Linked DNA regions of Homo sapiens: all the other regions are linked to region 3. The links are contacts of gene promoters, found by promoter capture Hi-C in blood cells and fetal thymus (Javierre and others, 2016). All regions are on one chromosome and are shown on one strand. The core of a region is centred on a gene start or on the middle of the fragment in contact, and the rest is flanking DNA. Distances in the headings are between cores, read along the strand shown.

Evidence for each region. Contacts are between HindIII fragments. The CHiCAGO score rates a contact against its expected background, and 5 or more counts as called.
Region 1: a fragment that was not itself captured here is called in contact with the fragment with the promoter of BPIFA3 in region 3 in 1 of 17 cell types (naive B cells); the score reaches 5.4 in naive B cells.
Region 2: a contact is called between a fragment that was not itself captured here and the fragment with the promoter of BPIFA3 in region 3, in 2 of 17 cell types (M1 macrophages and M2 macrophages). The highest score is 6.6, in M1 macrophages.
Region 4: a contact is called between a fragment that was not itself captured here and the fragment with the promoter of BPIFA3 in region 3, in 3 of 17 cell types (M1 macrophages, M0 macrophages and naive B cells). The highest score is 7.3, in M1 macrophages.

The regions. Positions count from the first base shown.
Region 1 is chr20:32,877,918-32,885,101 of GRCh38, forward strand. EFCAB8 (EF-hand calcium binding domain 8) reads left to right here. Exons shown (of 27, transcript NM_001143967.2): 5 at 787-890. Among named protein-coding and RNA genes, the nearest start is that of EFCAB8, 23 kb to the left of the region's middle. RefSeq lists a silencer at 2,040-2,217. The HindIII fragment of the contact is 4,347 bases long and covers 2,900-7,184 here.
Region 2 is chr20:32,944,526-32,951,915 of GRCh38, forward strand. All of the region lies in intron 23 of EFCAB8 (EF-hand calcium binding domain 8), which reads left to right. Among named protein-coding and RNA genes, the nearest start is that of SUN5, 56 kb to the right of the region's middle. RefSeq lists an enhancer at 5,716-6,524. The HindIII fragment of the contact is 687 bases long and covers 1,412-2,098 here.
Region 3 is chr20:33,213,269-33,219,958 of GRCh38, forward strand. It overlaps BPIFA3 (BPI fold containing family A member 3), which reads left to right and starts at 4,084. Exons shown (of 7, transcript NM_178466.5): 1 at 4,084-4,395. The coding sequence starts at 4,269. The HindIII fragment of the contact is 14,014 bases long and covers 945-6,690 here.
Region 4 is chr20:32,921,695-32,928,299 of GRCh38, forward strand. All of the region lies in intron 20 of EFCAB8 (EF-hand calcium binding domain 8), which reads left to right. Among named protein-coding and RNA genes, the nearest start is that of EFCAB8, 66 kb to the left of the region's middle. The HindIII fragment of the contact is 1,581 bases long and covers 687-2,267 here.

The sequences.
Region 1 (7,184 bases), core at 3,823-6,322, 330 kb before region 3:
GAGGGAGACGCTGCTGTGCTCTTTCAGTGAATGCTGCGAGTAGGCCCTTCCCATACTCAGGATTCAAGAACAGGTCTGCTGTCCAAGCGCAGTGGCTCACACCTTTAATCCTAGAACTTTGGCAGACCACTTGAGCCCAGGAGTTCGAGACCAGCCTGGGCAACATGGCGAAACCCCATCTCTACAAAAAATACAAAAATTAGCTGGGAATTGTGGCATGCATTTGTGGTCCCAGCTACTCAGGAGGCTGAGGTGGGAGGATCACTTGAGCCTGGGAGATTGAGGCTGCAGTAAGCTGTGATCACACCATTGCACTCCAGCCTGGGTGACAGAGCAAGGCCCTGTCCCAAAAGGAAAAAAAAAAGGCCGGGTGTGGTGGCTCATGGTTATAATCCCAGCACTTTGGGAGGCTGAGCAATAAACTGTGATCACACCACTGCACTCCAGCCTGAGTGACAAACAGAGAAAGAGCAGGTCTGTTGCTTGGCCACCTGCCCTGGCCAGTACTTGGGAAGCAGCCACCAGAGCCTATCGGAAGGGCCTGGGAGAGATGGGGTGGTGAGGGGGACCCTGGGAATCAGGCTTGAGTTCTTTTTTTTTTTTTTTTTTTTGAGACGGAGTCTCGCTCTGTCGCCCAGGTCGGACTGCGGACTGCAGTGGCGCAATCTCGGCTCACTGCAAGCTCCGCTTCCCGGGTTCACGCCATTCTCCTGCCGAGTTCTTGAAACTGAAGGCTGAGACCATTTTGCCAATACCCTGCCTCCCTTGTGCTTTCTTTCGAGGCAGCAAAAGTATGTGGATTACATGATGCGTGAGTTCCAGGGAAAAGAGGACATGCGAAAGAGCCAGTACCGCCTGCACTTCTACCTTCCCATGACGGTCGTCCCCCTGTAAGGAGCCTCTTCCTGGGCCTTGGTGGGTGGGGTGACTGGACAAGTGCTGGTGCCAGCCTGCAGTGAGCCCCTCCCTCAATCCGTGACCTTGCTGGTGCTGACCAGGGGCTGGCATCAGCCTGCTGCCTGATGTCCTTTGGCTCATTTCAACCTCACAGCCCTGTAAGTGTTAGGACTAAGGTACGTGATTTGTCCCCATTTTATAGATGAGGCCACTGAGGTCTGGAGAGGTCAAATGGCTGGCCCCAGGCCAATAGGTAGAAAGTGGCGGGCTGCTGTGTTTGGCCCTCTCAGCCCCCATTCCCCAGTATACAGCATTGCTTCACCTGCTTCCTGTGCTAGTTGGTGCAGAGTGGGTCTGGCAGTTTCATCATAGGGGCACAGGTGGCACAGGTGGCCAGCACAGGCAGGAATAGGAGTTTCCTCCCAGGCAACAGGAAGGGAATTGCTCCTCAAGCCCCCAGCCAGGCCCTGGAGGCCTCAGAGTGGCTGGCCCCGGGAGTAGGTCCCTCTGTTACTCCTGGAGCTGGTGGCACCACCCTGCCTTGGCTTCTGCCTGACCGCTCTGCTCACTCCTCCTCCTCGTGGCTCCTCCACCCGCTGTGCCCACTGAACCCTTGCTTTGCAGGGGAGGAAAACTGTCTTTTCCCTCTACCCATCTGAGGTTCATTGGCAGGGACCTCTCTAAGCGAAGACAGAGTCACAAGGACAAGCATACAAGTTTATTTAATATAAGTTTTACATGACACGGGAGCCTCTGTAGGAAATGAAGCCCCTAAGAAACAGATAACCTGAGGGTTTTCATGCTAGGTTCAATGGAGGGTGGAAAGCTGTGGAAAAATAAGATAGGACAGAGGGGCGATGAGCCAAGCGTAATACATGGCGGAAATAGCAAGGACGTTAGTTCAGATTCTTGTCCGTGTCCCTGTGTCTTTGGGCACCCCTCACATGAGTCTTATGACCGGCTTCAGGGGAAGGTCAGACAGTCCTTCCTGAACATACTGCTTCTCAAATTCCTTTAGTTTAACAGACTCAGTATGCTGCGGTGCCCTATTTGGGGGTAGCATCTCTCAGACCCCTCAACCTCTTCTGTCTGTGCCAGGGGTTGATCTGCCTCGCTGTGTGTTCCTCCCCCTGGACTCCCTAAGCATGAGGAGCATTGCAGGGGCTCTGACCTGCTGGGCCTGGGCTGCCCGGGTCACTGGATCCCTTCCTGCAGTCCACCCTGGAGCACTGCTGCCTGGGGCAGGTGGCCAGGCAGGGAGCTGGGTCCTGAGATACAAGGTGTGGCAGCCTACATTTGTGACCAGGTCAGGAGGGAGCTGTGGGTGGGTCTGTCCTAAGAGGACCAGACCCAGACCAGGCCACGGGGAAGTCAAAGAGCTGGAAGGCAGCCCCGGTCCTCAGGCAGCCTGGGGTTTAATAGAGAAGGCGGCTTGAATGAAAGTCACCCAAGGGTAACTTTTTTTTTTTTTTGAGACAGAGTCTCACTCAGTTGCCCAGGTTGGAGTGCAATGGCTTGATCTTGGCTCACTGCAACCTCCGCCCCCCGGGTTCAAGCGATTCTCCCGCCTCAGCGTCCCAAGTAGCTGGGATTACGAACGCCTGCCACCATGCCTGACTAATTTTTTTGTATTTTTAATAGAGATGGGGTTTCACTGTGTTGGCTGGGCTGTTTGTGAACTTGGGGCCTCAAGTAATCCGCTCACCTTGGCCTCCCAAACTGCTAGGATTATAGGTGTGAGCCACTGTACCCGGCAATAACTTAAAACAAAATTTTGGTTGGGATTTAATTGAGAAATAACCAATAAATATGAATGATAAGAGATTTCATAACTGTATTTTTTAAACATTTACTGGTTTATTATAAAGAATATTACAAAGGATACAGATGAACAGATGTGTAGGGCGAGGTATGGGGAGAGGGATGCACAAGCTTCAGGAACCTCCGTGTGTTCAGCCATAGGGAAGCTCTCAGAACCCAGTCCTCTGGGGTTTTTAGTGGAAGCTTCATGACATCAGCATTCCTGCCCCTAGGGCATAGGGCAGGACTCTGGGGCTGTGGGAGTTAGGAACTGTGGGCAAAACATATATATATATAAAACACCACAGGCCCCCACTCCTGGTTTTTGAACATAGAGAACACAGCTCCCTTATAGCAAAAGAATACACAACTCAAAAGATACTGGCACATTCCTAGAGTCCCATTTAGTCATTAATAATTCATCCCATCCATCATAGTATATGAATGTCTCCCAGGCTGAGGCCATTCAGGTTTGTAGGCTTCCTTTCAATCTTGTCAGGTTCCAAAAGCCGGAGTTGGCTTGGCAAATAAACCTCTCAGGCATCTGGAATCATTGAGCTAAGAGACAATGTCATCTCTCTTTTCTTTTTTTCTTTTTTGAGATGGAGTTTTGCTCTTGTTGCCCAGGATGGAATGCAGTGGTGCGGTCTTAGCTCACTGCAACCTCTGCCTCCCGGGTTCAAGTGATTCTTCTGCCTCAGCCTCCCAAGTAGCTGGGATTACAGGCACCTGCTACCATGCCTAGCTAATTTCTATGTTTTTAGTAGAGATGGAGTTTCACCATGTTGACCAGGCTGGTCTCGAACTCCTGACCTCAAGTGATCCATCCACTTCGGCCTCCCAAAGTGTTGGGATTACAGGCGTGAGCCACCGCATCCAGCCAGTCATCTCTTGCTCTGAGAACTCCTTCGAGTTGTTGGTGTAATACTGGATTTCTCTCCATTTAATCCATTTATTAATCTTTACCCTCAGCTAGTATTCCTCCTTTTCTCCATTTGTCATTTATTTTTACCCAAACTTTTCCTCCTTTGCAAGGGACATCGGGTTCAGCCACTGTGCCTATCTGGATCATTGGTAGCAAAGCTACTGTAGCGAGTGCCTCCCCTCAGTCCATTCTCATTCATAGAGAATAGGGTTACACGAGTTCCAAACTCGCGAGCCATTTTTACCATGAGACAATATAGCTGTATTTATTTTTAACCCCCATTTTGCCAGATGGGATGAAGGCGCAATCCACCCCCATCAGGCCCTTAGGGAATTCTGACAACGTTTTAAAACATGGTGACTGTTTCTTGCTTAGAAATTATCCCTGCCCAGGCATGGTGGCTCACACCTGTAATCCCAGCACTTTGGGAGGCCAAGGTGGGTGGCTTACCTGAGGTCAGGAGTCCTGGCCAACATGGTGAAACCCTGTCTCTACTAAAAATACAAAAATTAGCTGGATGTGGTGGCAGGCACCTGTAATCCCAGCTACTCGGGAGGCTGAGACAGGAGAATTGCTTGAACCCAGGAGGCAGAGGTTGCAGTGAGCCGAGATTGCGCCATTGCTGTCCAGCCTGGGCAACAAGAATGAAAACTCCGTCTCAAAAAGAAAAAAAAAAACAGCATGCAAATGCAATTCAGCCCACTGAGGCTGATCAGTTTCTACCTTCTTTGCTGCAAGTGGCAGCCCTCCAAACAGAATATCGTCCATTCACTTTGAAACTGTAAACCCAGCATTTCCTCGTTGGTCACTTGATAGCTGTTCACGGCACACTGTCCAAGTGTCGACAGAACCCAGCAGCACCTCACACAGTTCCGGAATCAGTCCTGGGGTAAAGAGGCTCATAGCCTGTGAGTATCTCTTGCTTGCATTCCCCAGGTAGCAAGATGCTGAGTAAACCATTTCCATTTTATTGTATTTATTTTTTGGGATTTTATTTTTGAGACAAGGTCTTGCTCTGTGGCCCAGGCTAGAATGCAGTGGCATCATCTCAGGTCACTGCAACCTCCACTTCCTGGGTTCAAGTGATTCTTTTGCCTCAGCCTCCCGAGTAACTGGGATTACAGGTGGCCGCCACCACGCCTGGCCGATTTTTTGTTGTTGTTGTTGTTGTTTTGAGACAGAGCCTTGCTCGGTCGCCCAGGCTGGAGTGCAGTGGTGCAATCTCGGCTCACTGCAAGCTCTGCCTCCCGGGTTCATGCCGTTCTCCTGCCTCAGCCTCCCGAGTAGCTGGGACTACAGGCGCCCACCACCATGCCCAGCGATTTTTTTGCATTTTTAGTAGAGACGGGGTTTCACCATGTTAGCCAGGATAGTCTCAATCTCCTGACCTCATGATCTGCCCGCCTCGGCCTCCCAAAGTGCTGGGATTACAAGCGTAAGCCACCGCGCCTGGCCTAGTTTTTGTATTTTTAATAGAGACGGGATTTCACCGTATTGGCCAGGCTGATCTTGAACTCCTGATCTCAGGTGATCCACCTGCCTTGGCCTCCCAAAGTGCTGGTATTACAGGTGTGAGTCATTGCGCCTGGCCAACCATTTCCATTTTATTATGGAATTTCTGGCCTCTGTAGGCCCCATTAGAGCATTTCTCTGATATCACCCAAGACATCTGGGTATTTCAGGTTTCAAGATAATTTTATATCCTTCAGTCGTAGGGGTAGCTTCAGTTAATGTCCCATAACAAGGTAGTAAATGCCCCTCAAGAGGACATTCCCTAGTCCAAAGTCCCAGTAGCTGTTGCCGGGAGGCGCTTACAGGCTTTTGTCGTAAGCCCCAGGAAATGCTCCACAGAGGGCTATCCAGTGGAGAATTTGTCCCTGCCAGCTCTCTAGCTTCTACTCTGCACTGTGTGGGCCTGGGCAATCTTACTGGTTCCCATGTAGCATGTCCAGTTCATATAGCTTGAATGGCGATTTACATACCTCTGTTTTATAGCAGTAGGAAGGGGAGACATTCCCTAATTAGATATAGTGTTCATTCCCATGATACAATCAGATAAAAGCAACCATTTGAACATGAAGTATGTTCAAATACATAACTGTACATTTTGGCATGAACACATTGCTTAATAAGGTCAAGCCTTCACTGGTCTATTTCTTTTTTTTTTTGGAGACGGAGTCTCACTCTGTCACCCAGGCTGGAGTGCAGTGGCGCAATCTTGGCTCAGTGCAACCTCTGTCTCCCGGGTTCAAGCGATTCTCCTGCCTCAGCCTCCTGAGTAGCTGGGACTACAGGCGTGTGCTACCACACCTGGCTAATTTTTGTATTTTTAGTAGAGATGGGGTTTCACCACGTTGGCCGGGCTGGTCTTGAACTCCTGACCTCAAGTGGTCTGCCCGCCTCCTGACCTCAAGTAATCCTCCTGACCTCAAGTGATCCACTCACCTCAGCCTTCCAAAGTGCTGGGATTACAGGCGTGAGCCACTCTGCCCGGTCAGGTCTTTCTATTTCTTTGGGCCATTTAGATCTCAAGGGTGTTTAAAGGTCCTGAAACAGAATGTCAAGAGGCTTGTTCCTATATTCTCCTATTTATTTGTTCAACCTACAAACCCGGAGAGCATTTCCAACTTGGTGGGGAAAATAAATGAGTAATATTTAATTACCTTCATGAAAGAGTAACTTAAAACATTGGCTTACCTTTACTGAGCCTGGGCCGGGTGCACCAAATGCAGCCTCTCATCTGATCCCATCACAGCCCTAGGAGGTGCAGGTGCTGTCATCATGCAGGTGAGGAAACCAAGTCCTCCCTGAGATGGCCTGTCCTTAGGGCTGTCTTCCCTTTTCCTAGCTGTCACCTATCATCCCATTCTGCACAGTCTTTGGCCCTGACAGAAGTGGCAGGGTTGGAAGAGATGAGAGGGCAACTGAGAATATTCATCACAATCTACCCAGAGCCATGGGCTGAGGATAGGAGAGAGGAGAACCGTGTCCAGACACGTTTCCCTTGCTCTTCTGCAGAGATGGTAATGGCAGTTGAATTTTCACAGTGGCTTGGGTTATCCTTAAGCCCAGGGTCAGACCAGGCCTACCGGATTTGGAAAGGGCCCTGGAGGAGGGGTCACAGTGCCTAGGTTCTAGTTCCAGCCCTGCTAGTAAATAGGACATAACTCCAGGCAAATGATTATTCCCTGGGCCCCTGTAGGATGAGGTAATATCACCTGCTCTGCCAGGGCTCAAAGATTGGGCAGATCAAGTAGGAGAGTGTGTGCCATGCCATGCCATGTTGGGAAGCTGGAGTGGCAGGGACTCTCAATGGCCAGATAGCTGGCTTAGCCCACTTGGGTGCAGGGAAGCAACCCACAGAGGGGAGCATCAAAGCCTGTATGAATGCTCAAGGGCGGCCTCCTGCGAGGCCAGGCCTGCCCCCGGAGCTGTTGGCTGTAGGTTTGGTGTGTGGGACCCTAATTCCCCACTGCTCCTTGTCCACTTTGATTTCATCCTTCGGTTCTGTTCCCCCCTCTACCCCAGAGCACTAGAGCAGTTGCTAGAAAGTGCTGTTTCT
Region 2 (7,390 bases), core at 505-3,004, 270 kb before region 3:
CTGTATTTTTCTATGTGTTTACATTTATCAGAAAGCTTTGTATTTTCATATGCTTTCATGTTCCTGCCTAGCATCCTTTTGTTTCAACTTGAAGGGGTCCCTTTAGCATTTCTTTAAAGGCAGGTCTAATGGTGATGAACTCCTCTTGTTTTTATTTATCTGGGAAAATTTTTATTTTTCCTTCATTTTTAAAGGACAGCTTTCCTGGATATAGTATTTTTGGATGAGAGTTTTTGTTCTTTTTATAATGTGTCTCCTTGTGGATTTCTTTGACTTTATCCTAGTTGGAATCCCTTGAGCTTCTTGAATATAGGTTTCTTTTCCTTTTTAAGATTTGAAACATTTTCAGCCATTATTTATTCAGATAAGCTTTTTGTCCCTTTCTCTCTCTCTGTCTCTCTCTCCTCCTTCTAGTACTACCATAATGCATATATTGTCCATTTGACGATGTCTCATAAATCCCTTAAGTTTTCTTTACTCTTTAAAATTCTTTTTTCTTTTTTGCTTCTCTGACTGGATATCTTCAAGTCTGCTGATTTTTCCTTCTGCTTGATCAAGCCTGCTGTAGATGACTTTTGAATTCAATTATTTTACTCTTCATCTTCAGCTCTAGAATTTCTGTTATTTTTATTATTATTATTATTATTTTTTGAGACAGGGTCTTGCTCTGCCACCCAGGGTTGAGTGCAGTGGCACGAATTCAGCTCACTGAAGCCTTGACCTCCCAGCCTCAAGTGATCTTCCCACAGCCTCCTGAGTAGCTGGGACTACAGGTGCATGCCATCATGCCTGGCTAATTTTTTGTATTTTTTGTAGAGACAGAGTTTCACCATGTTGCCCAGGCTGGCCTTGAATTCTTGAGCTCAAGTGATCGCCCACCTAAGCTTCCCAAAGTGTTGGGATTATAGGTGTGGGCCACCATGGCTGGCCTCTGTTTGGTTCTTTTCTATATTTTCTGTGTCTTCACTAATATTCTCAGTTTGTTCATGTATTGTTTCCCTGAGCTTGTTGAGCATTTTTATTACGGTTACTTAGAATTCTTTGTCAAATAATTAATATACCTCAATTTCTTTAGCGGCAGTTTCTGGAGATTTATTTTGTTCCTTTGGGCCATGCTTTCCTATTTTTTTTGTGTGCCTTATAACTTTATATTGGGATCCATGCATTTGTAAAATCAGCCACCTCTCCCAGTCTTTATATACTGGCTTCATTCAGGGAAAATTCTGCACCAATCAGCTTGGCTAAAGATTCTGGGTGCCTCCCCAATCTTTTTTGTGGATACTTTCACCAGACTTACGCATGTAAATTCGCAATTACAGGAATCTACAGGTTTATTTTTTTCAGGAGTCCATTATCTCTTGCTCTCTCTGGTGTCTATTTGCAGTACTGCAAGTTCTCTAGAGCGGCTACAAGCTTCCCCCAGGCCTCTAGAATATGCTGGGTCCTTCAATAGTCTGAGAGAGGCAAGACAGAAACCAGTTTCTTGGGTACCCCTCAAAGGCTAACATTGGATATGTATGCTCCAAATCTGCCTCCTCAAGGAGAAGCTGGAAGTTGGGTTGTTTTCTCTACTCATTCCACAGAGCGGCAGGAGGGACTCTGATAGTGTGTGCTAGTCTAAATTGTCACCTTTGTTCTTAGTAGCCCAGTCTGGTGCCTCTTCCTGTCAGTGCTTAGATTCAGGCAAGACAGAAACTGGTTAATCATGCAGCCCTCTGAAAAGTCTGCATGTTGGATGTACATCTCAGTCTTTCCCTCCCAGGGAGAAGCTGGAAGCTGGTGGTTCCTTCCCAATCTGCTTCACTGAGCCAGGAGGAGGGATTACAAGTGAGCACTATGAATTTTCCTACTGGCTTCAGTGCAGCTGGTTTTTTGTTTTTTGTTTTTTTGGTTTTTGTTTGTTTGTTTTTTCATTCATCTGGGATGAATGGTCCTGGTTTCTGGTCCATGTACTGTTGTTCAGTCAGTGTCTCCATAGGGAGAAGGAAGTTCTGGATCTTCCTATTCTACCATCTTGCTGATGTCACCCATTTTTTTGTATCTTTCAAAGACGTCTTTGACTATCCCCTAAATATAATATCTAGTGTTATCTTTTAGAAGCTTGTTTTAAAAATCAGATTTCTGAAGTATAATTTACATCCAATAAAAGCACCTTTTAAAAGTATATAGTTCTGTGAGGTTTCATGAATGCATACAATTGTGTAATTGGTATCACAATCAAGACATAGACATTACCCCAAAAAGTGACCTCATGTCTCCTCATAGTAAACTCTATTTCCTTCTCCTAACCCCTGGCAGCCATTGATCTGTTTGTCTCTATAGTTTTGCCTTTTCCAGATTATCATAAATGGAAACATACACATGTAGCTGAGTGAAAGTCTAACTTTCACTTAGCATAATCAATTTGAGATTCATCTTTGTTGTTGAACGTATCAGTAGTTTGTTCTTTTTATTGCTGAGTATTATTCCACTGTATGGCTCTGTCATAGTTTGTTAATCCATTCACCAATTATAGGACATTTGAGTCATTGTCAGTTTTGGATGATTATGAATGAAGCCGCTTTAAACATTGTTTTCATTTCTGTTGGGTAAGTATTTAGAAGCAGAATGGCTGGGTTGTATGGTAAGTGTATTGAAACTTTATGAAAAATGACCAAACTGTTTTGCATTTCTACCTTTGTGTCTTCATCAACATTTGGTGTTTGATCTGTTATTATTTTAAATTTTAATAATCTATGATTGTAGCATGAGATTTCAATATTCTCTCAATTTATAAAACAACTATACAGAAAATCATTAATGATATAGAATACTTGAATAACACTATCAAACAATTTTACTTAATTAACATTTATAGATCATTCATAAACAAACATTATTTTTAAGTGCACACAGAACATTAATTAAACCGACCATATTCTGGTAACAAAACACATCTCACTAATCTCAAAAGGATTTATGCCATACAAAGTATGTTCTCTGATCCCAATGAAACTGAATTATAAATCAAAAACAGAAATATCTTTGAAATATCCCTAAATATTTGGAAGCTAAATGACACATTTCTAAATAACCCATGGGCCAAAAAAAGAAATCCAGAGGGAAATTAGAAAATATTTTGAACTGAATGAAAATGAAAATGTAACATTTCAAAATTTATGAGATGCCACAAAAAACAGTAGTAACGGGGAAATTTGTAGCACTAAATGCCTATATTAGAAGGAAAAAAGTTCAAATCTCCAGCCTCAACTTCCACATTAAGAAACTAGAAAGAGGTCTGGTGCGGTGGCTCACGCCTTTGGGAGGCAGGTGGGAGGATCATTTGAACCCAGGGGTTCAAGACCAGCCTAGGCAACATAACAAGACCCCATCTCAATTAAAAAAAAAAAAAAAGAAAAAAGAAACTAGAAAGAAAGAGCAAATTGAGCCCAAAGTAAATAGAAGAGAAATAATAAAGATTAGAATGGAAATCGATGAAACAGGGAAGTAAAAAATAATAAGGAAAATCAATGAACCCAAAAGCTGGTTCTTTGAAAAGATAGTTAAATCGATAAACCTCCAGCTAGACTGGGCAGGAAAAAGAGAGAGAATACACCAATTACCAATATCAGGAATGAGTGAGATGACATCATTTCTGATTCTACAGATATTAAAAGGATAACAATGAAATACTATAAACAACTTTATACAATAAATTTGGCAACTTATATGAAATAAACTCCTTGAAAGAAACAAACTACTAAATCTTACACAAGAAGAAACAGATAACCCGAATATCCTTATATCAAAGAAATTAAATTTGTAGTTTAAAACTCTCCTTACAAAGATACCTCCAGGCCTAAATGGCTTCCATGGTGAATTTTACCCAAATATTTGAAGGGGAAATAATATAAATTCTACAGAAACTCTTCCAGAAAGTTGAAAAGGGTACAATACTTCCCAACTCATGAGGCAACTTGGTACCAAAATCTGACAAAGACGTTATAAGAAGAAAGTGAAAAAGAAAGAAAGAAAGAAAGAAAGAAAGAAAGAAAGAAAGAAAGAAAGAAAGAAAGAAAAGAAAGGAAAAGAAAGCAAACTATCAATTAATATCCCTCATAAGCATAAATACAAAATATCTTAACAAAATTTTGCAAATAAAATCCAGCAATGATCACATAGGGTTTACCCCAGATATACAAGGTTGGTTTAATATTTGAAAATCAGTGTAATTTATTATATTAATAAAGTGAAAAACTATGTGATTATCTTGATACAATAAAATCATTTGACAAAATTCAACATCCATTTCTGATAAAAAACATTTAGCAAAATAGAAAAAACTTTCTCAACCTGAGGAAGTGCATCTGTGAAAAAACCTAAAACTAGCTTCACACCTAATGGTGAAAGGCTGAGTACTTTCCCCTGACCAGGAATAAGACATGTCACTTCGATTCAAAATTATACTAGAAGAGTAGAGGGCAATTACAGAAGGAAAAAAAAAGGCATTCAGATTGGAAAGGAAGAAATAAAACTGTTTTTATTTGTAGTTGACTAATTGTCTATGTAGAAAATCCAGTGGATTTTACTAAAAAGAGTTAGTAAGGAGTTTAACAAGGTTGCAGGATACAAGATCAATACAAAAAATCAATTGTATTTCTATATACTAGCAATGAACAGCCAGAAATTGAAGTAAAAGATACATTTACGAAAACATAAAACATAAATACCAAGATATGTAAGTACACAGAAAAATACTACAAAACATTGCTGAGACAAAGTATAGAAGATTTACTGTTAATGGGTAGAAGACTCTCTGATTAAGAATAAAATTATCTCCAAATTGATTTATAGGTTAACTGAAATACCAATCAATATCCCAGAAGAATTTTTGTAGAAATTGACACACTGATTCTAAAATTTATTTAGGCCAGTCAAAATAGCTTTGGCAAAGGAAACTAAGATGAAGGGCTAACATTGCCTGATTTCAAGACTTATTGTGAAGCCATGGTAATCAAGACAGTGTGGTAATGGCATAGAGACAGACAGACAGATCAATGGAATGGCACAGAAAGTCCAGAGATATATCCATACATATATGGACATCTGTTTCTGACAAAAGTGCAAAGGCAATTCAGTGGAGAAAAGACAGTCTTAAAGCAATGAACTTGGATCCACACCTCACACCACATACAAAAAGCAATTCAAAATGGGCCATGCATGATGGTTCACACCCGTAATCCAAGCACTTTGGGAGGATGAGGTGGGAAGATCACTTGAGGCCAGAAGTTCGAGACCAGCCTGGCCAACATGGCAAAACCCCATCTCTGCTAAACATACAAAAAATTAGCCAGGCATGGCGGTGCCTGCCTGCAATCCCAGCTACTCGGGAGGCTGAGGCACAAGAATCGCTTGAACCTGGGAGGCGGAGGCTGCAGTGAGCCAAGATCGCACCACTGCACTGCAGCCTGGGCAACAGAGCAAGACTCTGTCTCAAAAACAAACAAAACAACAAAACAACAACAACAACAACAAAAATGGAACATAGAACTAAAGGCAAAAGTTAAAACTAAAACTTCCAGAAGAAATCGTAGGAGAAAACCTTTGTGACCTTGGTTTAGGCAAAGATTGTTTGCATGCAACACCGATAGAGCATGATTCATAAAATATCAAGTTAATAACAGTTTATCAAACTTAAAAACTTCTGCTCTTCAAAAGACACTGTTAAGAGAACAAAGATAAACCACAGACTGGGAGAAGATATTTGCAAATCCTATATCTGATAAAGCTCCTATTTAGAATATATAAACTCTCAGAACTCAACAAGGAAACAAGTAATACAATAAAAACATTAGAAAGAGGTTTGAATAGACACTTCACCAAATTTGAAGAGACTTCACTGTAAGAATTAAAGAGGAAACACGAAGGACAGCTCAACAGTCAACAGGGACAGGTTTATTTTAAATAAACCTGAGAGGGGCGGCTGGCTGAGTTAGGTTAGAGCCACACTCTCTTACAGACTAAGAGTTTTTAAGGATTCAGGGTGGGAGAATTTATCAGAGGCTTGGACTGCTTCTGTGTCTCTTTGTTGTGCTTATCTGGGAGGGAGAGTTGTGTGTCTGTTCCCATACATCTTTCTGCAGCTGCAGGCAAATCCCCCGGGTTGCTTTTAGCTTCCCTATCTTAGTGCACCTGAAGGGAAAGGAATGTGCTTCTTAAGACCCACTGTTTTACTGGAGCCCATTGTATGAGGGTGAAGTTTAGCAGTTACCCAAGAGACCTCCCCCTCCCTCTGTGCCCAAGCTGTCCTATTGTATTTTACTGTCTGCTCTTTTTGGCTGCTTGTAGTTAGAAGAGACGTGATTTCCTTGAAATGCATGAGGCTAGAAAGGGAGCTGGAACTTAAAGTGGCAGTGTTTGTCCGAGATGACGGTGCTCCTGCTCTGTCATTCACCAAAGGAAATATATAGAAGCATGGAAAACAATGCGCAATATTTATTCATTAGAAGAGAAATACTAATTAAAACCGCTGTAAGATACCATTTATCTTATTAGAATGGCTAAAGGAGCTGAAACTCTCCTGCACGGCTAATGGGAATATAAAATGGTTCAACCACTTTGGAAAGCATTTTGGCAGTTTCTTAAAAAGTTAAATGTGCCCCTATGATATGAATCAGCTGTTCCACTTCTATGAAAGCATATGCCCGGGTAAAGACTACATACATAAATGTTCACAGCAGTATTTTTTTGTGACAGCCTCAAACTAGAAACGATTCAAATGTCCATCAATAGTTGAGTTGATAAACTATGGTTTATGGAATATCACTCAGCAATAAAACAGAATGAAGAATTGATACGTTATACAACGTGGTTGGATCTCAAAATAATTATGCTTAGTGAGAGAAGCCAGACGAAAACCTGTACATATTGTATGATTCTATTTATTTTTTCCCAACCATTTACACCTGCATCTATTTATATAAAATTTTAGGAAATGCAAACAAATGTGTAGTGTGACAGCAGATAACTGGTTGTTTGAGGATAGGGGGCTGATGAGGGTTGGAAGGGTGGGAGCTCAAAGAAGCAGGAAGAAACTTTTGCAGGTGATGGATATGTACACATTAAATAGAAACTGGTTATTGCATGTCAATTATACTTCAATAAAACTGTTAAAAATAGTCATCCTACTAGGTTTATAGTGGTATCTTACTGTGATTTTAATTTGCATTCCTCTAGTGACTAATGATGTTGAAATATTTTCTTGCACTTATTAGTTATCCATATATCTTCTTTGATGCAATGCCTGTTCAGATCTTTTGCCATTAAAAAAAACTGTGTTGTTTTCTTATTGAGTTTTGAGAATGCTTTATTCTGGATACAAGTTCTTGATCAGATATGAGGTTTTGAAAAT
Region 3 (6,690 bases), core at 2,834-5,333:
TCATTCCAAAGGCAGCTCCCAGCACCTCCCCCCAGCCCCCACTAAATCAGATTCAGGAATCTGCATTTAATGCTTCTGCCTCCTCTGCTGTTCCCTGGAGTTTGGGGACCTCTGCCTTTTGCTAGGGACCTGGAATTTCCTTAGAGCCCCAAGGAGGGGAAGTGGCCACCCCAATTGGCCGTTAGAGATCACAGGTGTGCATAAGCCTGCTTGGCCCGGAGTTCTGCCAAGGGAGGTTCCTGCCTCCTTGTCCCACTGGACAGCTCTTCCTGCAGCCAGGGATGTGAGACAGGCCCTCTCCCTGGGCACATGGGTACAGACTTCTCACCCCATAGACAGCCACTACTGTCTTCCTTTCTTCCTCCAACCTGCCGAGCTCTTTCCCACCTGAGGGCCTTTGCCCTCATGGTTCCCTCTGCCTGGCTCCCCTTCCACATTTTTATACTCAAGCCTGGCTCCATCTCCTCCTCTCCTCCTGGGCTCTGCTCAAATGTCGCCTGAGACCTTCCCTAATCCTGGTCTAATGTGGCCTCCTTGCTATTTCCAATCTTACAGTAAGCTTTTTCCCCTTAATACAATTTATGGTTATTTGGTTTCTTGTTTATTTCACCTTGTTCTGATTCCCTCACCAGATGATAAGCTGCTGGGGAATAGGGTGACTGTTATTCCCTAGAGTCAAGCACAGTGCCTGGCACACAGTTGGCCCACAGTAAATAATGGTTGGGTGGATGGATAAATGAATTTTTTTCAAAGTCAAACTCCTTGAAAGCCAGTTTCCCAGGAGAGCAAGGGTTTTACCATTGAACCCATGGGCATGCCTTAAGAGGTCCATGGCAATCCTGGTACTGTGTGCAACATTGTTTGGCTTGGTGAGTTTTTTTTTTCCTAAAAGACAAACCAAAGCTTCCAGTGCATTTTCAAAATGTCCCCCAAGAAGGTAAAGAAGCTTGTTTTAAGGAAAGCTATTTGGAATAGTGAAGGAGGCTGCTAATGTGTGAGGCTCAGTGGTGTTCCACAGCGCCAGTGTCCAAGGAAAACAGTGTCTGAGGCAGTTCTGGGGAAGGCAAGACAGCCCACTGGGATGCCAGCTCAGCCTCTTCCTGGCTGGGAGCTTAGGCAGCCGCTGGGTTTCTCTGGGTCCCTGTCTCCTCACCTTTGTGGGATGAGGACGGAATGAGATAGACCACAGAGCAGGCTTCACACAGGGAACGGGTCCCAACGGAGAAACGCCAGCCCCGCCAGCCTCCAAGTATTTGCTCATTAAGGAGCTGTCCTCAATCCACCACCATCCTTCCTGAGAGCACCAGCGTGGCGTGCCCAGCCACCCTGGGTTTTTTCCTTGAATGTCAGCTAAAGAAACTCCACCTCCTCAGGGAGGTCTTTTTCCTGACATCCCTTTTCCCCCATTGGCCAGGTATCCCCTCCCTGTGCCCTCTCACAGTACCTCCCACCTCCTTCACCTCTGGGCCATATTTCATAATCATATGCTCAGTTGCAGGGATAATTGAAGACTGTGTGTCTCCCCACTGGTATGTGAGCTCCATGAGGACAAGGACCCTGCCTGACCACTCTCTGTGGGATCCCCAGAGCCCACGGCTCCTGACACTCAGTGTTCATTGATTTTAGTGGTTTTATTCATTGAATGAATGACAGCAAAGCCCACCATCTGAACAGCCACGCGCAAGCTCACTCCAGGACCATCACACCCTCACTGCCATCTCAGCCTCTCTATCATTCCTGCCTGCCTTCTGGAGTTGCATTTCATTCGTGAAAGTACTTGATAGAGGTGGCTCCTGCATTCATTGCACACGTGTCCCAGGAACCATCTTGGGATTCTCATGCTCCATGTCACTGACTCCATCAGCTTCCCTGGTTTACAGGTGAGGAAGGCTCAGAGGCGTAAGGACAAGGAGGAGGATCATCATAATAACATGGTTTTGGAGGACTGGCCCAAGCATGATTCGCTTTAATCCTCACTATAGCTCTGAGGTCTGCACTGTGATCCTTTTACAGACCTGGGAGCTGAGTCTGCCAAGAGACAGAGTCAGCAGTTGAACCCCGGTCTGCGTGACCCTAAAGCACATACTCTGGACTGCATGTGATCCTGCACCGAGTTGGCTTCAAATCCAGTCCCCAGCCCCTGAGCAGGGCCCTCTCATCCCTCCAAATCTGCTCTCTCTTGTCATGCATCAAGCTCTGAAAATCTATACCCTCCATGCTGTCCTTTCATTAGGCTCTGTGGCCCTGAGAACCACAGCCTGTGATGAGGTAGGACCAACAGCTCCTGCCCCATGTTAAGATGTCCAAAGAGCCAAGGACAACAGATTTGTTCCTCCCGACAATGCCCACTCTTCTCTGTTTTCTTGACAATAAATAACAAAATTCCAACCACTTACATAAGACCAGGAAGGCTAGAAAAATACATTTTGAAGTAAGTGATATTCTACAAACATCCCCAAGGGGAGCATGAACTCTGAGAAAGGACCTCAAACAGGGAAAGCCAACACCCTGAACCAAGGCTTTCTCAGTACAATCTCTTACAAAACCAGAGTGAATTGCCCAAGAATAGCCCCAAGGCTTCTGTGAAATTTGCAAAGGACGTTCCCATCCCTCATCCACATGGGACCCTCTATGTCGCCCGTAGTATGGGGAAACAGCACAGGGACAGTGACAAACGCCTTTGTCTCAGAGCTCACAGCAATGGCAAGGTGGGGCCCAGACATCCGAGACCTGTGCTGCTGCAGTGGAGTGGGGAAGAGAGAGCTGCAGGCAGTGCGGTCCAAGAGGATGCAGGGACCCTCCTGGGCCTGGGAGGTGTTGCATGGAATGTGGCTTTTGCTCTGTGTGCAGTAGGAAATGCTGGAGGGTTTTGAGCAGAGGAGTGGCATGGTGGTCTACCTTACATCTTTTTTTTTTTTTTTTTTTGAGTTGGAGTCTTGCTCTGTTGCCAGGCTAGAGTGCAGTGTAGTGTGATCTCAGCTCACTGCAACCTCTGCCTCCTGGGTTCAAGTGATTCTGCTGCCTCAGCCTCACAAGTAGCTGGGACTACAGGCATGTGCCACCACACCCAGCTAATTTTTTGTATTTTTAGTAGAGACGGGGTTTCACCATGTTGGCCAGGCTGGTCTTGAACTCCTGACCTCATGATACGCCTGCTTCGGCCTCCCAAAGTGCTGGGATTACAGGCATGAGCCACCGCACCCGGCCTACCTTACATCTTAAAATGACTGTTCAGGCTGCTGTGTGGAAGAGATTGTGGGTGGGCACAGTTAAAAGCTGGGAAACCAGCCGGGACCCACTGGCAATAATTCAGATCAAGCTGATGGTGGCTGAGGAGTAGTTGTTATATGTGGTCATGTTCTGGAAGTGTCAGCAGGATCTCCTGACAGATGGGTTGTGGGAGATGGGAAAAGGGGAGGAAAGGGCAGCTCCACCGGCTGGGAGTAGAACAACTAGATGGACTTGGCACCATTTCCTAAGAGTGAGGACAGGGGACTTAAACTGAATTCTCTCTGAATCCCAACCCCAGGGCTCCAAGGTCAACCTGATGCTTTGGCTTCAAGAGTCTGTAATTCTTATCCAGAAAGATAAGATCCATCCATCCAGTTATTCATTCATTTGTAGCATTAACAAACATTCACCAGTACTTACCATGTGGCAAACATGGGAGGCACTGTAGACATGAGGATTAATTAGACTCATACCCTGCCCTCAAGAAACTCATAATTCAGAGGAGATTCAGAGATCAACCATCTCCACTCATCAATTCAGTCGTTTGGTCACTCAACAAACATTCATTAACACTCAATTTCTGACAAGCAAGTATCGTGGTAGGGATTGAAGTGGTTGGTCATGCCCTTAAGAAAGTCCTAACCCAATTGGAGAGCCTGGGGTTAGCCATCCTCACTCAAATGTATTCATTCATTGGTTCACTAAAGAGTCACTAACATCCAGCCTGTGCCAGGGTCTGGGAGAGGACTCCTGTTGGATGACCCAACAATAGACTCTGGTGAGTGTCTCCAAGCAACAAGGCCTCCCTCTGGAGCCCTGGCCTCCTCCCAGGGTTCCACATGTTGCTCTCCCAATGTGAGCAAGCCCTGGTGGCAGCGCCAGGGTCCAGTGCAGCCCCTCCCCACAGCATGCTGGGGGCTAATTCTGATGTCATCTTTCTGCAGAAAACCATTAGACCATCCCTCCAGACTGCCACCCTCAAAGCCGTCTGCCCAGGCCCCATCTGACACTCTTGACATCTGCAGGTCCCAGACCCTATGATGTGTCCACTCTGGAGGCTCCTCATCTTCCTCGGGTTGCTGGCCTTGCCCTTGGCACCACACAAGCAGCCTTGGCCTGGCCTGGCCCAAGCCCACAGAGACAACAAATCCACCCTGGCAAGAAGTAAGCTAAGCCCCGGGCTCTGCCTGCTGCCTACGGGGCTGGGGAGGTGGGAAGGTGCCATCTGGGCTCCACTGCTAACCCGCTGGGTGACTTCAGGTTAGTCACTTTCCCTCTTCTCTTTTTCTTAGACCTCAAGTACAGAAAATTGAGGTTGTGTTGATCATATGCCAATTTCTAGCACATCCTCATTGGCACAAATCACTGCAAGGTCCCCCTTTTGTTTTATTTTCTTATTTTCCCCCTTTATGACTTATTCTCACCCCATATCCCTACTGCCTTGGCAGGCATTGCAGCGTGTTTAATGGATGTACTTAAATATGCCTGTGTCCTTGTATGTACAGTACTTTAATTTACATAAATTGTATTGTACTTTAATTTACATAAATTGTATAGTGTTGGGTTTCACTCAGCACTATGCTGTTGACATCTATGTTGCTTCAGCTGGTGCAGAAAGAGCCATAAGATTCATCCACCTCAGTTTATTTGGCTGCTCCCCTCTGGATGGACATGCAGGTTGTCTCTAACTCTCCATGATTATAAACTACACTGAGATGAACCTCCTTGCAAGTGTCCCTGTTACAGCCTGTGGGAGAATTTCCCTGGGATAAACCCAGAAGGAGAGTGGTTGGGTCCTGGGGTAGAGGTGAACTCAATTTAACCAAAACTGCCAGAATCCTCTCTAGAATGGCTGTGTGGTCTACACGTGCTCCAGTAAGAAATGAGCATACCTGTCTCCCCATGTTCCCCAGCACTGCCGAGTACTGAGCTGTATCAGTCAGCTAGGGCTGTCCTCACAAGACACCACAGACTGGGAATTAAACAACACACATTCATTTTCTCACAGTTCTGGAGGCTGGAAGTCCAAGATCAAGATGCAAATAGGGTTGGTTTCTGGTGAGGCCTGTCTTGCTGGCTTGCAGACGGACACCTTCTCGATGTCTCCATACAGCCTTTTCTCTGTGCATGCAGAGAAAGAGATCTGTTTCTTCTTATAAGGACACCAATCCCATCAGTTTAGGGCCATACCCTAATGACCTCGTTTAACCTTAATTAGCTCTTTAAAGGCCCTATCTCCAAAGACAGTCGCACTGGGGGAGGAGAGGGCACAATTTGATCTATGACACTATTTTTCTACTTTTTTTTTTTTGCCAGTTTGATGTGTAGTTGAGTGATAACTACTTGTTTTAGCTTGACTTTATCTGGTGAGTGGGAAGTTTGAGCATCTTATACTTTTGTTAACCATTTTGACTTTTTTTCTTGGAGACAGAGTCTCACTGTGTCACCCAGGCTGCAGTGCAGTGGCATGATCTTGGCTCACTGCAACGTCCACCTCCCAGGTTCAAGCAATTCTCCTGCCTCAGCCTCCTGAGTAGCTGAGATTACAGGTGCATGCCACCATGCCCGGCTAATTTTTGTATATTTAGTGGCGATGGGGTTTCATCATGTTGGCCAGGCGGTCTCGAACCCCTGACCTCAAGTGATCTACCCACCTCGGCCTCCCAAAGTGCTGGCATTACAAGTGTAAGCCACTGTGCCCAGCCCCATTTTGACTTCTTTGAATTCCCTGTTCTTACCTTTTATCCATTTTTAAATTTGCTTTTCTGGGTTTTTTTAATCCTCTTTGACTTGAAGAGACATTACTTAATTCTTGACATTAGCCCTTTGTCAGATTTATGCATTGTGAATATTTCTCCCAAACTGTCATCTGTTAACTTTGTAGGTCCTTCACTGAACAGGAATATTTTCAAATTCATCAATATTTTGTTTTATAGTTTGTGTTTGGAAAGTCTTAAGACCTTGCTCCTACCTCAGACATATTCTACTTTGTTTTTTTCTAATAGCTTTATAGTTTTACCTTTCACATTTAAGATTTTAACCCATCTCTGGAGGCTATCTTTATGTATGCCTGTGTATGTAAGGCAGAGATTCAGCTTCGCTTCTCTCCATATGACTCAGTTTCCCCAACTCATCTACTAAATGATCAAATTCCCAAAAATGAGGATTCACTGCTGAACTCCCTATGCTGTATCTGTACATCTGTTTTACACCAATAACATAATATTGTAAATACAACATCTTTGTAAAATGCTGTTTTATCTGACAGACCTATATTCTTCCAAATGAATTTTAGAGTGTGTTGAGTTCCTTTAAAAAATTCGTCTGGCCGAGCACGGTGGCTCCCTAGCACTTTAAGAGGCTGAGGTGGGAAATCGCTTGAGCCTAGGAATTCAAGACCAGCCTGGGCAGCATATCAAGATCCTGTCTCTACAAAAATAAAATTAGAAAATTAGCCAG
Region 4 (6,605 bases), core at 227-2,726, 290 kb before region 3:
TTGTACTTTTTTTTTTTTGACTAGTAATATAAAATGATAGCTATGTCCTGCCATATGCTTTTTTCTGTAAGTCTATAGCATGGATATACTTTCATGAGAGGGATTTAGATTCATCTTATTCTTTTGTTACCTTATTCTTTTTTTTTTTTTTTTTGAGACGGAGTCTTGCTCTGTCACCCAGGCTGGCGTGCAGTGTTGCGATATCAGCTCACTGCACCTCTGCGTCCTGAGTTCAAGTGATTCTCCTGCCTCAGCCTCCAGAGTAGCTGGGACCATAAGCATGTGCCACCATGCCCAGCTGCTTTTTTATTTCTAGTAGAGTCGGGGTTTCACCATGTTGGCCAGGCTGGTCTTGAACTCCTGACCTCAGGTGATCCACTGGCCTCGGCTTCCCAAAGTGCTGGGATTACAGGCATTAGCCACCACACCTGGCCATCTTATTCTTTTTAACAACTGCCCACTGCTGCATAACTTGGATGCATCAGGAACTGTGAAGCTGGTCCTCTATGAATAGGTCTGTGGGTTAGTTCCAGTTTTTAGCTTTTAGGAGCAGCACTGCATTGAACATTCTTGCACGTACATTTCTGGGCACTAGTGTGAGTATATTGAGAGGACGGATTCTTGGAAACAGAATTGCCAACAGATCCCATCTCTTTAAATCTGTGAAGTCAAGGTAGATGGCTCAAAGCTTGATCTTTTGGGCTAGTGACCTAGTGCTGTCAGGACACAGGCATTCGCTACATGCCAGCCGCTGGGGAAGGAGCAGTGAATGAAAGATATCAAGCCCCTGACCTCTGGAGCTGTCATTCTAGTTGGGGCAAGATAGACAATTAACCAGCAAATAAAATAAAGGGCATGTCACAGAGTGAGTGAGGACAATGGAGGACAAGAAAGCCGGGAAGATGGCAGGGAGAACAGACATGGGAGGAGATGGCATTGCTGTTTTATGAATAGGCTGGTCAGGGAGGGCTTCACAGAGGAGGTGGCATCTGCATAGAGCCTGAAGGAAGCGAGGAAACATGGCCTGCAGTTATTTGGAAGGAGGGTGATGCAGGCAGAGAAGGTAGGTGCAAGGGCCCACATGGGAGAGCTGGCATGGAATGTTCGAGAATGAGTACTTCTCTCTCTCTCTCTGTATCTCTCTCTGATACTTTCTTCCTCTAATTAGAAAGTGATACATGTCCTTAATTAAAACTAAAAAAATTCAGGCCAAGAGCAGTGGCTCACATCTGTAATCCCAGTCCTTTAGGAGGCCAAAGTGGGAGGACTGCTTGAGCCCAGGAGTTCTAGACCAGCTTGGGCAACATGATGAGACCTCATCTCTACAAAAAATTAAAAAAATTAGCCAGGTTTGATAGTGTGCACGGTGCACCCAGCTCCTTGGGAGGCTGAGTTGGGAGAATCACTTGAGTCTGGGAGGTCAAGGATGCAGTGAGCTGTGATTGTGCCACTGCACTCCAGCCTGGGCAACACAGCTAGACCTTGTCTCTTAAACAAACAAACAAACCTGGCCCAGTGCGATGGCTCACACCTGTAATCCTAGCACTTTGGGAGGCTGAGGTGGGCAGATTGCCTGAGCTCAGGAGTTCGAAACCAGCCTGGGCAACACGGTGAAACCCCGTCTCTACTAAAATACAAAAAATTAGCCAGGGGTGGCAGCATACTCCTGTAGTCCCAGCTAGTCGGGAGGCAGAGGCAGGAGAATTGATTGAACCCGGGAGGCGGAGGTTGCAGTGAGCTGAGATCGTGCCACTGCACTCCAGCCTGGGTGACACAGTGAGATTCGCCTCCAAAACAACACCACCACCACCACCTATGAAAAAAAATGAAACTTTATACGAGTGTATAAAGTAAAAGAATGGCTGTCTCCCTCCTCAGCCTCCAGAGGTAATTACGTTAAGACATGTGTTGTAGCCTTCTAGAATTTTTTTGTGCATATACAAGTACATACATGTATGAATGTATATATATAAATCTAGATATTTTTCACTGGATAATATCATATTGCATGTATTATTCCGGGACTTGCTGTTTTTCACTTGACTCCTCACGGGCATCTCTTCATGACGGTGTTTACGGAGCCATGGCATTCCTTTTACTAGTCACATCATGTCCTGGGTACACTGCACAGAGTCTGTATAGCTATCTGCTGCCGCTGGGTTTTGCCTCTATAGAAAGCATTGCAATGAATACCCTTGTACATAAATTTTGGATCTCTTGTCTATTTCCAGATATAAAACTCTAGGATTAGAAACATACTCCTGGAAAGCTTTTGCTATCTTGCATTATGTTTCAGTGGTAGCTAGTAATTATTGAGCTCTCAATATCTGCCAGACAATGAACTTAATGGTTTACATGTGTTATTTTTTGTTTTTTGAGACAGAATCTCAGCTCTCTTGTCCAGGCTGGAGTGCAGTGGCACAATCACAGCTCATTGTAGCCTCCACTTCCCAGGCTCAAGCGATTCTCCCACCTCAGCCTTCTGAGTATTAATAGCTGGGACCACAGGTGTGTGCTACTGTGCCTGGCTCATTAAAAAAATATATATTTATAGAGATGGAGTCTCCTTATGTTGCCCAGGCTAGTCTTGACCTTCTGGGCTCAAGCGATCCTCCTGCCTTGGCCTCCCAAAGTGCTGGGATTACAGGCATAAGCCACCATGCCCAGCTACATGTGTTGTTTTTATTTTGTCCATCAAACAGCCCTGGGAAGTATGTACTATTATTATTTATTTATGAGGGATTTTTATTTATTTAATACATCTGAAAAGAATGTATGTGAAAAGAATGTTTAATACATCTGAAAAGAATGTACTATTATTATTATTCCCATTTTATGGCTGAAGAAACAGGCCCAATGAGGTGAAGTGACTTGCCCAAGATTCTTATGGCCAGAAAATGGCAGAGCCAGGGCCTGATTCTAGGTCTATTTGTTTTCAAAGTTCAAGTTCTTTTAAGTTTTTGTGCTGCCACTGTTGGGAATTCCTTGGGCTTTTTACGTGGCCTGGTGATCTGTGTGTAATAAGGATTTGTATCATGAATCTTGATTGAATTTTTGGCCACAGAATTGCATGCAAAAGATTGAATGTCTATTGGTGAGATTTGAGGCACTGTGGCTGGCAGGGCTGTGTGTGTGTGTGTGTCCCCTCTGGATGCTGACCCTCACCCCTGGCTTCAAGATGTACTGTCTCCCACCCGCACCACTCCTTGAGGAGCAGGGTCCCTTCTCTCTGGGGCACTTGTGGGCACAGTGAAGCATTTTAGGGTGGTGCCCTGGAGAGGGTCCAGAGTGCTTGGGTCATCTCTGATCTCAGCCTTTCCTTAGTGGAAGAGAGGCTTGGGTGGGCTGGGGTAAGGACACCAGACAGGGAGTGGGTGGGGGTCTTACCTGTTGGGTCTTCCTTCCCATTATTTCTGTCTGGCCATCCCAGAAGACTGTGAGGCATGGCAGAAAGAGCACTAGGAAGGAGTCCAGGATGCAGATCCAGGCCCAGCTGTGTCCCTGACAGTCTTTATTTTTAATTTTACTTATTTATTTATTTTTGAGATGGAGTCTCACTCTGTTGTCCAGGCTGGAGTGCAGTGGCGTGATCTCAGCTCACTGCCACCTCTGTCTCCTGGGTTCAAGTGATTCTCGTGCCTCAACCTCCTGAGTAGCTGGGATTACAGGTGTGTGCCACCACACCTGGCTAATTTTGTGTTTTTAATGGAGACAGGGTTTCACCATGTTGTCCAGGCTGGTCTTGAACTCCTGACCTTAAGTGATCCTCTTGCCTCAGCTTTCCAAAGTGCTGGCATTACAGGCGTAAGCCACCACGCCTAGCTAATTTTGGGTTTTTAGTGGAGACGGGGTTTTGCCATGTTGTCCAGGCTTGTCTCGAACTCCTGGCCTCAAGTGATCCTCCTGCCTCAGCCTCCCAAAGTGTTGGGATTACAGGCGTGAGCCACGGCGCCCAGCCCCTGACAGTCTTTAGATGAAGCACTTGCCCCTGGCCATCTCCCCAGTAGGGAAGGACCAGATGGCACGCAGTAGAAAATTGCTCCAAGTTACATGAAGTTTAGCCCGTGAGTAGCTTGCCATGGCTCCTTCTGAAGGGACCCACAGGGAGGCCATTAACCCGCTGTGGTTGAGATACTATCTGGGATTCCTGGGCTGAGTGAGACTGAAATGCTCACCTTCAGTCCAGCAGCTCTTTCCAAAATGAGCAGGGCAATGTATTGGATGGGGCTGGATGCAGAGTGCAAAAGGAATAGTGTTGGTTACCTGTCCCTCGCAGCCACACGGCTCTGTCCTGCCTAGGGCCACCATTCTGACTGTGCTTTTCTCACTGTGAGCACCGGATGCTGGCTACGCAGTTGACCCTGTGCTCTCAGCAGGCCGCCCCTCTCCAGTCCTGCTGAAGTCCTGGGCGCTCATTCACCTTCACCCTACCTGCTCTCACCGTCCCAGGGCTGGCAAAGGAATGGCTGGGAAGGATGCCTCAGCTTTTCCCCAGTTCAGACATGGGAGAACTTTGTGGTGCATCACTTTGGTGAATCCTGTGCAGTTATGAGGAACCACATTTTAGAAAAATACTTAATCATTGGAATGTGCTTATGACAAAATTTAAAGCACATCCTTTAAAATGACAGTTAATGACTACTGTGAAAGTTGTGTGCACGTTAAATTTTTTTTTATGGTTTTGATTTTTCAAACAAAACTGAGAACGTTTGAAACTATTGTTTATTTAGCTGTTTGCTTTTTTTTTTTTTTCAAACCTTGCAATTTGTGGTGGACAGTTTTTCCTCTCAGCACATAATAATCTATCCACTTCATTCTTTTTTTTTTTATTATACTTTAAGTTTTAGGGTACATGTGCACAATGTGCAGGTTAGTTACATATGTATACATGTGCCATGCTGGTGCGCTGCACCCACTAACTCGTCATTTAGCATTAGGTATATCTCCCAATGCTATCCCTCCCCCCTCCCCCGACCCCACAACAGTCCCCAGAGTGTGATGTTCCCCTTCCTGTGTCCATGTGTTCTCATTGTTCAATTCCCACCTATGAGTGAGAATATGCGGTGTTTGGTTTTTTGTTCTTGCGATAGTTTACTGAGAATGATGATTTCCAATTTCATCCATGTCCCTACAAAGGACATGAACTCATCATTTTTTATGGCTGCATAGTATTCCATGGTGTATATGTGCCACATTTTCTTAATCCAGTCTATCATTGTTGGACATTTGGGTTGGTTCCAAGTCTTTGCTATTGTGAATAATGCCGCAATAAACATACGTGTGCATGTGTCTTTATAGCAGCATGATTTATAGTCCTTTGGGTATACCACTTCATTCTTTTTAATAGCTTTATATAGGGACCTATCTAGGTTTTTTGGAGCCTAAAACTTTTGCAAGAAAAATGCACAAAATTATAAAAAATTAGGTACAAAAGTGAATATTTATTTAGAATGAGAAAAAAGTGTCAACAAATTTCAAAACTTATAAATCTGACAATTACAAAAGTCACCAGAACTTACCAGTTCTTTCCTAGAACCTTGAACTTAAACTTGAACTTAGCCTTGAGCTTCATGAACTTCACGAGTAAATCTGCCACTGGCTGCAGTGTATTTCTTTGGATTCACCATGATTTGTTTATTTATTTATTTATTTAATTTAAAATTTTTTTGAGACAGAGTCTCACTCTGTCTCCCAGGCTGGAGTGCAGTGACGTGATCTTGGTTCACTGCAACCTCCGCCTCCCAAGTACCAGCAATTCTTCTGCCTCAGCCTCCCGAGTAGCTGGGATTAAAGGTGCCCGCCACCATGCCCAGCTGATTTTTGTATTTTTAGTGGAGACAGGGTTTCACCATGTTGGTCAGGCTGGTCTTGAACTCCTGACCTCAGGTGATCCACCCGCCTTGGCTTCCCAAAATGCTGGGATTAGAGGCGAGAGCCACCATGCCTGGCCAAAATACATTAAAGTCTTAATGGTGATTATTTCTGGGTACTGGGATTTTGTAGGTGATTTTAATTTCCTTTCATATGTCTATGCTGCCCACATTTTGTACAGTGAGCACTTGCATAAAGTGGGGGAAATGCTTGCCCTTTGTCTTTGGTTCAGGGATTCCTGTTTTTTCTTTTTTTCAAAAAATTTTTCTTGTAGTGAAATACACATAACATAAAATTTACCATTGAAACCATTTTTAAGTGTATGGTTCAGTGGTAGTAAATATATTCATAATGTGCAGCCATCACCACTATCCATTCATCTTGTTAAATTGAAACTATACCCATTAAAAAATAACTCCCACTCCCCTCTCCCTCCAAACCCTGGAAACCCCCATTCTACTTTCTGTCTTTATGATTTTGACTATTCTACCTCATGCAAGTGGAATCATATGTTTGTCTTTTGGTAACTGGCTTATGTCACTTAGCATAATGTCCTCTTTGATTAATTCCCAAGTATTTTACTCTTTTTTTGACACTATTGTCAATGGAATTATTTTTGTAATTTCCTTTTCAGATTGTTCAACGTTAGTGTATAGAAATGCAACTGATTTTTTATTTTTTTTTTTTTGAGACAGAGTCTTGCTCTGTCGCCCAGGCTGGAGTACAATGGCACG